Regions from separate parts of the Homo sapiens genome. Here all the other regions are linked to region 1. Evidence: promoter capture Hi-C in human tissues and cell types (Jung and others, 2019). All regions are on one chromosome and are shown on one strand. The core of a region is centred on a gene start or on the middle of the fragment in contact, and the rest is flanking DNA. Distances in the headings are between cores, read along the strand shown.

The links. The method cuts DNA at HindIII sites, captures the fragments that hold promoters and counts their contacts. A contact is called where the count stands out against the background at its distance.
Region 2: a fragment that was not itself captured here is called in contact with the fragment with the promoter of WFDC6 in region 1 in 1 of the 25 tissues and cell types used here (hippocampus).
Region 3: a contact is called between the fragment with the promoter of DBNDD2 here and the fragment with the promoter of WFDC6 in region 1, in 2 of the 25 tissues and cell types used here (heart left ventricle and mesendoderm cells).

What each region holds. Positions count from the first base shown.
Region 1 is chr20:45,538,090-45,540,907 of GRCh38, reverse strand. It overlaps WFDC6 (WAP four-disulfide core domain 6), which reads left to right and starts at 1,426. Exons shown (of 3, transcript NM_080827.2): 1 at 1,426-1,591; 2 at 2,814-2,818. The coding sequence starts at 1,501. It overlaps EPPIN-WFDC6 (EPPIN-WFDC6 readthrough), which reads left to right. Exons shown (of 5, transcript NM_001198986.2): 4 at 2,814-2,818. EPPIN (epididymal peptidase inhibitor) reads left to right here. Exons shown (of 4, transcript NM_020398.4): 4 at 1-282. It overlaps LOC107987282 (a long non-coding RNA gene), which reads right to left. Exons shown (of 4, transcript XR_001754641.3): 3 at 2,229-2,372; 4 at 521-833. It also overlaps the pseudogene HSPD1P21. The HindIII fragment of the contact is 28,992 bases long and covers 1-2,818 here.
Region 2 is chr20:45,299,700-45,302,517 of GRCh38, reverse strand. MATN4 (matrilin 4) reads left to right here. Exons shown (of 10, transcript NM_001393530.1): 4 at 1,075-1,197; 5 at 1,294-1,416; 6 at 1,509-1,631. Among named protein-coding and RNA genes, the nearest start is that of RBPJL, 5.7 kb to the left of the region's middle. The HindIII fragment of the contact is 4,441 bases long and covers 1-2,818 here.
Region 3 is chr20:45,406,822-45,409,639 of GRCh38, reverse strand. It overlaps DBNDD2 (dysbindin domain containing 2), which reads right to left and starts at 1,351. Exons shown (of 3, transcript NM_001048225.4): 1 at 1,034-1,351; 2 at 702-839. The coding sequence starts at 1,172. It overlaps SYS1-DBNDD2 (SYS1-DBNDD2 readthrough (NMD candidate)), which reads right to left. Exons shown (of 6, transcript NR_003189.2): 4 at 1,034-1,180; 5 at 702-839. It overlaps LOC107985404 (a long non-coding RNA gene), which reads left to right and starts at 1,751. Exons shown (of 5, transcript XR_007067608.1): 1 at 1,751-1,891. RefSeq lists an enhancer at 2,214-2,763. The HindIII fragment of the contact is 23,713 bases long and covers 1-2,818 here.

The DNA.
Region 1 (2,818 bases), core at 177-2,676:
GATTGCTGGGTCAAATGGTATTTCTGGTTCTAGATCTTTCAGGAATTGGCACACTCTCTTCCACAATGGTTGAACCAATTTACATTCCCAACAGTGTAAAAGCATTCATGTTTCTCCACAGCTTTACCAGCATCTGTTGTTTCTGGACTTTTTAATAATCACCATTCTGACTGGCATGAGATGGTATCTCATTGTGGTTTTGATTTGCATTTCTCTGATGATCACTGGTGTTGAGCTTTTTTTCATATGTTTGTTGGCCGCATAAATGTCTTCTTTTGAGAAGTGTCTGTTCATGTCCTTTGCCCACTTTTCAATGGGGTTGTTTGTTTTTTTTCTTGTAAATTTGTTTAAGTTCCTTGTAGATTCTGGATATCAGACCACAAATTTTCTTAATCTGTCTCCAGTGATGGGAAAGCTAAGCTATTTGTCCACTGATTCCCAACGCCCACTGGATGCCAGGGATACTAAATCCCTCGCTCTTTCAAACTGTTATACTTGCAAGCTATACAAGCTCCCTGGGGGCCAGAGAAAACCCACAGCAGAAAATTAGGGACTGATGCTAGAGGTAGGAGGCTGTCAATGTGCATTGGCTATTATTCGGCCATAAAAAGGAATGAACTTCTCACTCACCACTGATGACATGCCTTGCTGCACACACACCCTGCTGCCACCCTGCAGAAATGCTTCCATTACCCACAGTCCTTTGCCAGATGGAACTGATGCCCAGGTAACTGGCTCCTCACCTCCTTCGGGCTTATACCAAGGATATAAAACTTGGTACAGATGCTCAAGCGTTAATGCTTCAGGGTGTGACTTTTAATCCAATGCTGTAGCTGTGACAACAGGGAAAAACGGAGAACAGAGTTGGAGAAGTCCCAAAGTAATGAAAGAAGTTATTTACTGTTGCAAAATCAAACGACTTAAAGGATAAATGTAACTGATCTTTACATACGAAAGAAGAGAGAGGGAAGTGAAGGGCGGGGAGAAAGAGACTCAGACAGACAGAGACTCCCTGAGAAAAAGACAGGCACAGAGTAAAAGACATACAGATGCACAGAAAAGAGAAGAAACAGAGTGAGAAAAATAAAACATAAGAATAGACATGTCAGGAGAAGAGTGAAATTAGAAAGAAGGAAGAGAGCTAGCATACTGTTAACCTGCAAACTCCCCCTGGGAAATGGAAGACTCTGGAGTTAAACCTCCCCTTCTGCTAAGGGAGCCTGGAAAGCCCAAGACAACATGTGCCCTCTTTCCCTGGTAGACCAGAAAGCCTCAGATTGCTGAGGATTAGGAGCCACCTATCCCCCAGTGTAGGTACCAGGTAGTCCCACTGATGGCCTCAGGGATCTGGTGTTCCTGATCGGGGAGTCTGGCTGGCTTGTCTCCAGGGCTGTCTCTTAAGGTGCTGGGCCACACCGGGGCAGGCAAAGTGCAGATGTAGGAGCTGCTGAGGAGCAGTTCTTAGTTTTGGTGCCATCAACCAGGCCAGTACTTCCTAAAATGGGACTCTCAGGACTTCTGCCAATCCTGGTACCATTCATCCTTTTGGGGGACATCCAGGAACCTGGGCACGCTGAAGGCATCCTTGGCAGTAAGTATTGGGAACTCCGTCCTTGCAATGGGGAAAGGAAACTCAGTGGGGAGGAAGGAACAAAGAATAATTTTGCAGCTGAGAAATTATTTTCTCCACCTCTGCCTGGAATTCCAGGTGGGAAAGAGGGGAGCTATTTGAAGTCTCTTGGTAAGAGACTCCCTTGGTGAATACAGGCATCCAAATCTGTGGCAAGTGACTCCTTGCTGCCATTCCAAAGAGTTCTTCCTGGAGGTGCCTGGACCTAGAGCTCATGAAATGAACTAAGAAGGAGTAGTAAGCCCAAGGAAGTCTCCCACAAGAAAAACAGGCTGCTCCCCACAACACCACCTGTGTCAACTTCCAAATGTTCTCATTGCAGCCCCCACACCCATACCCACAGAGGACCCTGGTCTTTGGGTTAAAGAATGGTCTCCAGAAGTCCCTTGGAATGCTGAAATGTGAAGACTCACAATTAGCAGCTAACTGTACTGGGCACTGAAAATTAGTGGTTGAAAGTGAGCACTCAGGAGCCACACATTGTAGGTTCAAACCTGGCTCCACCCCTGAGTAGCTGTGTGATCTTGGGCAAATTCACATAATCTCCTTATGCTTCCAATTCTTCTGTTTACAAAATGTGAATATTAAGAGTACTTACCCATAGATTTGTAATGAGGATTAAGGAGAAAAGGCAGCTCACAGTAAGTGCTTCATCCATATTACTCATTGTTACGTTACATTGCCCCAGGCAGTTTGACGATGGCTTGTCAAACTGTGTTGCTGGTTAGTCTTCAAAGCAACCCTATGGGCAAATGAGGAAATCAAGGCTCAGAGAGAGTGCCTGGCACACCAAGCGTCTCACAGAATTCAAAAGCCCAGCTATCTGATGCCAGAAATGTTAATCTCAATCATCGAGAGCCACAGCACCTCCTGGGGGAGCAACCAAGCACAGCAAGGCTGAGTGACCAGAACAGTCTTAGAGGAATGCGTCTTTCTCTCAGGAATCTCATAGATGGTGCGGGTAGGGGGTAGGGGTTGGTTTAGGCATCCGATGGTGAGTTGTTATGGGGTTGGGGATGTGAGCAGTGTTGTGAAATTCCTGAGCCCCCTGAGGGCCACTACCTTCTGGGGATAGGTGAAGTGGAAACAAAGTTCTCTAACTCTGGAGGGGTGCCCTGGTCTCGGGGAGGGGGAGCACTGGCTCCTTTAAGGCCTTGAGGGAATATATCTTCCCCTCCCTTAGAGCCG
Region 2 (2,818 bases), core at 235-2,734, 240 kb after region 1:
ATTACAGGTGTGAGCTGCTTCTTCATTTTTGTCTTCTGAAAAGCTATGGCATAGAATACCTCGCTTATTCAATTCAGTTTTTTACTGAGTACCAAGTTAGTATTAGACATTGTGCTAGGAGCATTACACATGTTATTATCTCTCAGCCTCACAACAACCTGGAAAAAGAAATCATGTAATCCCAATAACCCAGATGTCAGCTGGGGTCTTCTTGTTTCTAGAAACTAAAAGTTGGCTTGAACTCTGATTTGATGACTGTTTAACATTCAAATCTCTCTCCAAGACCTCTGGAAATCCCCCAAGTGCTTATCTTCTGGTTGTCACCTCTTGCTGTGAGCCTCTGCTAAATTCATTTGATTTATGGATCCTCTCTCATTTCTCAACCCTGCACATGCTGTTCTTGTTCCATGCATGTTAATCAACCTCTTCGTTGGTTTACACACTTGTGTATGCAGGGGCATACACAAGCGTGTATGTGCTAAGTAACTCATAGCGCGTGCACACACACACGAAAAACTCATTATAATTGAATATTAGACAGCTTTGTTTCTGAAAGTCCTCAGTCAGCCTAGTACAAGGGATTTTTCACAGGCAGCCTCAACCCACAGAGTTACTCATCTTCATACTGGCTCTCTTGTTCTTTTTTTTTTTTTTCTTTCCTCTCTCCACTCTCATCTCCTTTCCAGGAACCCCAAATACTCACTTTTTTATACAGGGTAATTATCTTCTCTCCAGTCCAGCTCTCGGCCATCTTTGCCTATCCAGATCATCAAGATGCTCAACAGGGCAATAGTTCCCCATCTTCCATGGAAGGAAGCTGTGAATAGCAATCACTGTCTTCCATTATATTCCCATTTTGCAAATAGAAAAATGGAGGCTCAAATAGGTAAAGTGGCCAAACCTGTCCTCTGTAAGTCAGAGAGCATCTTGAGGACAGGGGCCCTGACTAATTAGGTCAGGATTTTTGGGGTTGGGGCCCAGGCGTAGGTATTCTTTAAAATTTCCTTAGGTGGTTGTGCTACCAGAGCTGAGAAGGGCAGTCCTGGGCATAGACTGACCCCATTTCTTCCTCAGCCATTGATCTGTGTGCTGAAGGGACCCATGGATGTGAGCACCACTGCGTCAATTCCCCAGGCTCCTATTTCTGTCACTGCCAAGTTGGCTTTGTACTCCAGCAGGACCAGAGGAGCTGCAGGGGTGAGCAACACCCCCACCCTCCCACCACACCCTGGACTGTGGCCTCCGAGGGCTCCAATCAGAGGCAACATCTTGCTGTTTCTTCCCTCCTGCCAGCCATTGACTACTGCAGCTTTGGGAACCATAGCTGTCAGCATGAGTGTGTTAGCACCCCTGGTGGGCCACGGTGCCACTGCAGAGAGGGCCATGACTTGCAGCCTGATGGGAGGAGCTGTCAGGGTGAGGAGGGCTCTCCTACATTTGTGGGAGGGGTAAGAGATCTTAGCTGGTGGGGTCCATCCTGACTCATCCTGACCTGTCTCTCCTTTCAGTCCGGGACCTTTGCAATGGCGTGGACCATGGCTGTGAGTTCCAGTGTGTGAGCGAGGGCCTCTCCTACCGCTGCCTGTGCCCCGAGGGGCGGCAACTTCAGGCAGATGGCAAGAGCTGCAACCGTGAGTGATGGGCGGGAGGGTGTTCTGTTGGCTTCTGCCCCATTGCCCACATTTGGAGTGTCCTTGACTTTGCCATTGCTGTGGCCCCTAGGCTGTGGTGTGAATGTCTGTGTGTGTTGTGGGGGTGACATTGGAGGGTGTGCCATTCCCTCCTTCCATCTCTTTCCTACAATCCTCTACTCTGCTGTCAATGTTAATTTAAAAATACATATTTGATCACATTCCTCCTTTGTGCACAAGCCTTCTGTGGCTCACCAATGACTACAGGAGAAAGATCAAATGACTTACCCCTAAGTATTTCAAATGGTGAGCAGAACCACATTAATGAATAATGAAATCAAATTACTGGGTTACAACCAACATTAAAAAAAAAAGAGTGGAAGACAATATAGAGTTTACTGCCTGTAGAAAGAGTTATATTATTTCTGAAATTTTAGTTCTGTGTGAAATGTCTCATGATGTATTGTCATTATTATTATTTTTACTGTGGGCTGTGATAAAAATTTTGAAACCACTGCCTTAGGTCATCACGATCTAGCTTCAGCCAACTCCATCTGCCCATCTCCTGCCACACTTGAACATTTCAGTCTTACTGGCCTGCCCCTCCCCGGATGTGTCAGGATCTCCCCAGATCCCAAGCCTCTGCACGTGCTGCATCTCACCTTCTAGACTGTCCCTTACTGCCTTGGCAAACTCCTACTGATCTTTCAAGACTGTCTTAGATCATTCAGGCTGCTATATCAAAGTACTGTAGACTAGACATTTAGTTTTCACAATTCTGGAGGCTGAGGAGTCCAAGACCAAGGTGCCAGCAGATATGGTGTCTAAAGAAGGCCTGTTTTCTGATTCTTAGATGGCACACCTTTCAAAGCCTCCCCACGCCAACACACACACACACACACACACCCCTACACACACACACCCACACACACCAATTTTCTTGCTGTGTCCTCACATGGTGAAGACAGGAAGCAAGCCCTCTTCGACTTTTTTTTTTTTTTTTTTTTTTGAGACTAAGTCTCCCTCTGTTTCTCGGGCTGGAGTGCAGTGGCGCGATGTCGGCTCACTGCAACCTCTGCCTCTGGGGCTCAACTGATTCTCCTGTTACAGCCTCTGGAGTAGCTGAGACTACAGGTGTGCCCCACCATGCTTGGCTAATTTTTGTATTTTTAGTGGAGATGGGGTTT
Region 3 (2,818 bases), core at 102-2,601, 130 kb after region 1:
AGGACTCTGTTCCTCCTCTGCAAAATAAAAGGGATACCTACATCCCCAAAGGGTTTTGGGAATAAAACCTAAGAATGCTTATAAAATGTCTGGCATAGTAAGCCATCAATAAATAGTAGCAGTTTTAATTAAAAGAATATCTATCTTACAAGTTAAGCATATGGGCTTTGGAGTCAGACAGACATGAATTCCAGTTTATCTACCTTCTGGCTACAATGTGACTTAACTTCTCTGAGCCTAATTTCCTGCTTATAAAATAGAGATTATATCACCTACCCTGACAGGACGTTGTAAGGATTGAGATAATATATGTAAAGTACTTTAGTACAGTATTGGAACCTACTAAAGTACTCAATACATATTAATATCATTATAATGACTAAAACTACTTAAGTTGCCAAATATAAAAATTACAATTTTACATTATTTTAATTATAGTGACTAATTATATTAATATAACAAATGTAAAATTAAAGAAGAGATTGACCGTTCCCAGAATTTTGGATTAGAGATGTGTAACCCAGTTCTCCCTCAGGGTCAACTTCCCTAAAATCAGAACAGGCAGCTGTTTCATTGGTAGAAACACCCACTTCCAGCCCTTACTTGTGTACTTCCCCAGCCCAGCCTTGTAGCCTCGTTTCAGAGCCTGACATCCGGCTCTGGCTGACTGGCACTGAAGTCCCCAAAGCAGAGGGGCATACCAGACGACTGGGGGGTTGGTGGAGGATCTTCGCAAGGCAAGAACACATCTGCTGCATCCGGGTCCCCAAGGTCAATAAGTTCTACTTGCTCCAGTGTGTCCACATTCACTTCCATGGATGAGATACTACCTATGGGGGCTGCGGATCAAGAAGTGGGCAAGTCAGGAGGACCCAAGCTGCACACCAGGACAGTGAGAGTTACATGTCAGGTCCCAAGTTAGAAGCATAGAGGGCCAAGAAAACCAGAGGGGAGAGAGTGCCACAAGATTCAGGACCCACAGGACATCCTCCCTACCCTACCCCAGTCCCTCTTCTCAGGACTTGGGACTTACGTCTCTGCGACTCGAGATGCAGATGGGACAGAGGAAAGACAAACTCTGTCTCTGGCTGTAAAATGTCCTCGAAGAATTTTTGCCGCTCCCGAAGGCGGAGCTGCTGGCGCTCCAGGGCGGCCCGAGGATTTGGGTCCATGTCAGCTCCTGCGGGTAGAGGAGCAAAACAAGTACAGCTGCAAAGTCGAAAGAGAAGACAGAGGGGACCTGGGCTTGGGGCGCCCCACTGCAGCCAGCATCCCAACAGTGGGGCCCCTGGCTCCGGCCTGGACACCTCTGCCCTTGGTGACCTCTTTCCCCTTCCCTGAAACCAAGTGTGTCCCACAAACCAAGTCTCATGCAGAGGCGGGGCTTGCCCTAAGCTCCACAAAGGGGATGCCAGTTCCAGGCACCACAAGAGAGATACTCTGTATTCAGGGAACACAGCCAATGCCCAACTCTCCATATCATGCCCTCCTGAGAGGGGTTGGAGGGATTGGTTCAGCACAAATGGAGGAGGTACGTTTTCCCCTTAATTGGCCCCGCTTGCCTCAGAAGGCCAGGGACAGGATAGGATAGAGACAGAGATCTCAGGGTGGAGGGTTCCCTTCCTCCAGTGCTGCAGCCCACCCCTTCCCATCCTTCAAAACCCAGACAAAGGCTAAAGCAACTCCTCCCGCGCCCCTCCTTTTCTCTCCACCCACACAAACACGTACACACGCATGTGCCATCTACCCCAAACCCTTGCTCTGAAGTCACAGGCCTGACTTCCAGACTAGGCTCTGCCCCTAAGGAAATCACCTTTCTGGTCTTAGTCTCCCCATCTGAAAATGGCATAACCAACCTACCTGCCTCAAATACAAGACCCTGCTTGTGAAGGTGAGCTATTTAGGAGACTACCATCTTTCCTTTGAACTCCAACAGCTCTTTATGCGTCCCCCTCCTGGGACACATCTCACTGACTTATCTCCCCATTAGTCAGTGAGGAGCAATTGGAAAGGCGGGTTCTGGGTCCAGTTCAGAGCAGGCCTCCTGACCCCTAGGGCTGAGAAGCTGAGACCCTGCCAGAGCACTGAGGCTATGGGCCAGCCCAGGTCGGTGCATTCATTCCCATTCGCTCATCTCCTTCCCGGCGTTCTGCTCTGAGCCCATCACCAGAGGCAAGGGAGTTTCTAGCTTGAGGATCAGACGTCATCCTCCGCAGACTGCCTTCCCCACCTCATCTGCACCCAGCGTATCCCAGACCCTGGCCAGCTCCACGGGCGCCACAGAGGTGGAGAGGGACCCAACCCCGACTGGCCAAGGCAGGGCCACGGAAGTCTGGGGAGACCGTGCGGCCGCGGGCTGGCGGCGGAGGAGCGAGGCGCTGACGCCGATTCCCGGGAAAGGCTCTTAGAGCTGCCGCCCAGGTCACAACGCTAAAAATACCCAGGGCCCCTGGAGCCTGTGCTCCAGCAGCGAGGAGGGGGAGGGAGAGGCCAAGGTGGGGGAGCTGACGGGGGCCAGGGGCTCTGGGACACCCCCTCTCTTTTCCCCTCCCCCTAACCCCACCGATCTCACGAGACTGAAGGAGCTGTCCCCCGGGGGGCCGCGGAGCCCAGAGCTGGAGAAAGGGAGTTGTTTACGCGACCTATAGGTACTGGAAAGGGGGTGAAGAGATTTGGGGGCAGGAGGCTGCCAGGGGCCGGGCAGGAGCCAGCGAAATGGAGAACTCCCTCTCGGTCTCAGCCCCACCCGCACTGGAGCCAGCAAGAGGGAAAAAATTCCCTAAAAAGGGACACGAGGCGTCGGCGGAGGACGGGGGGA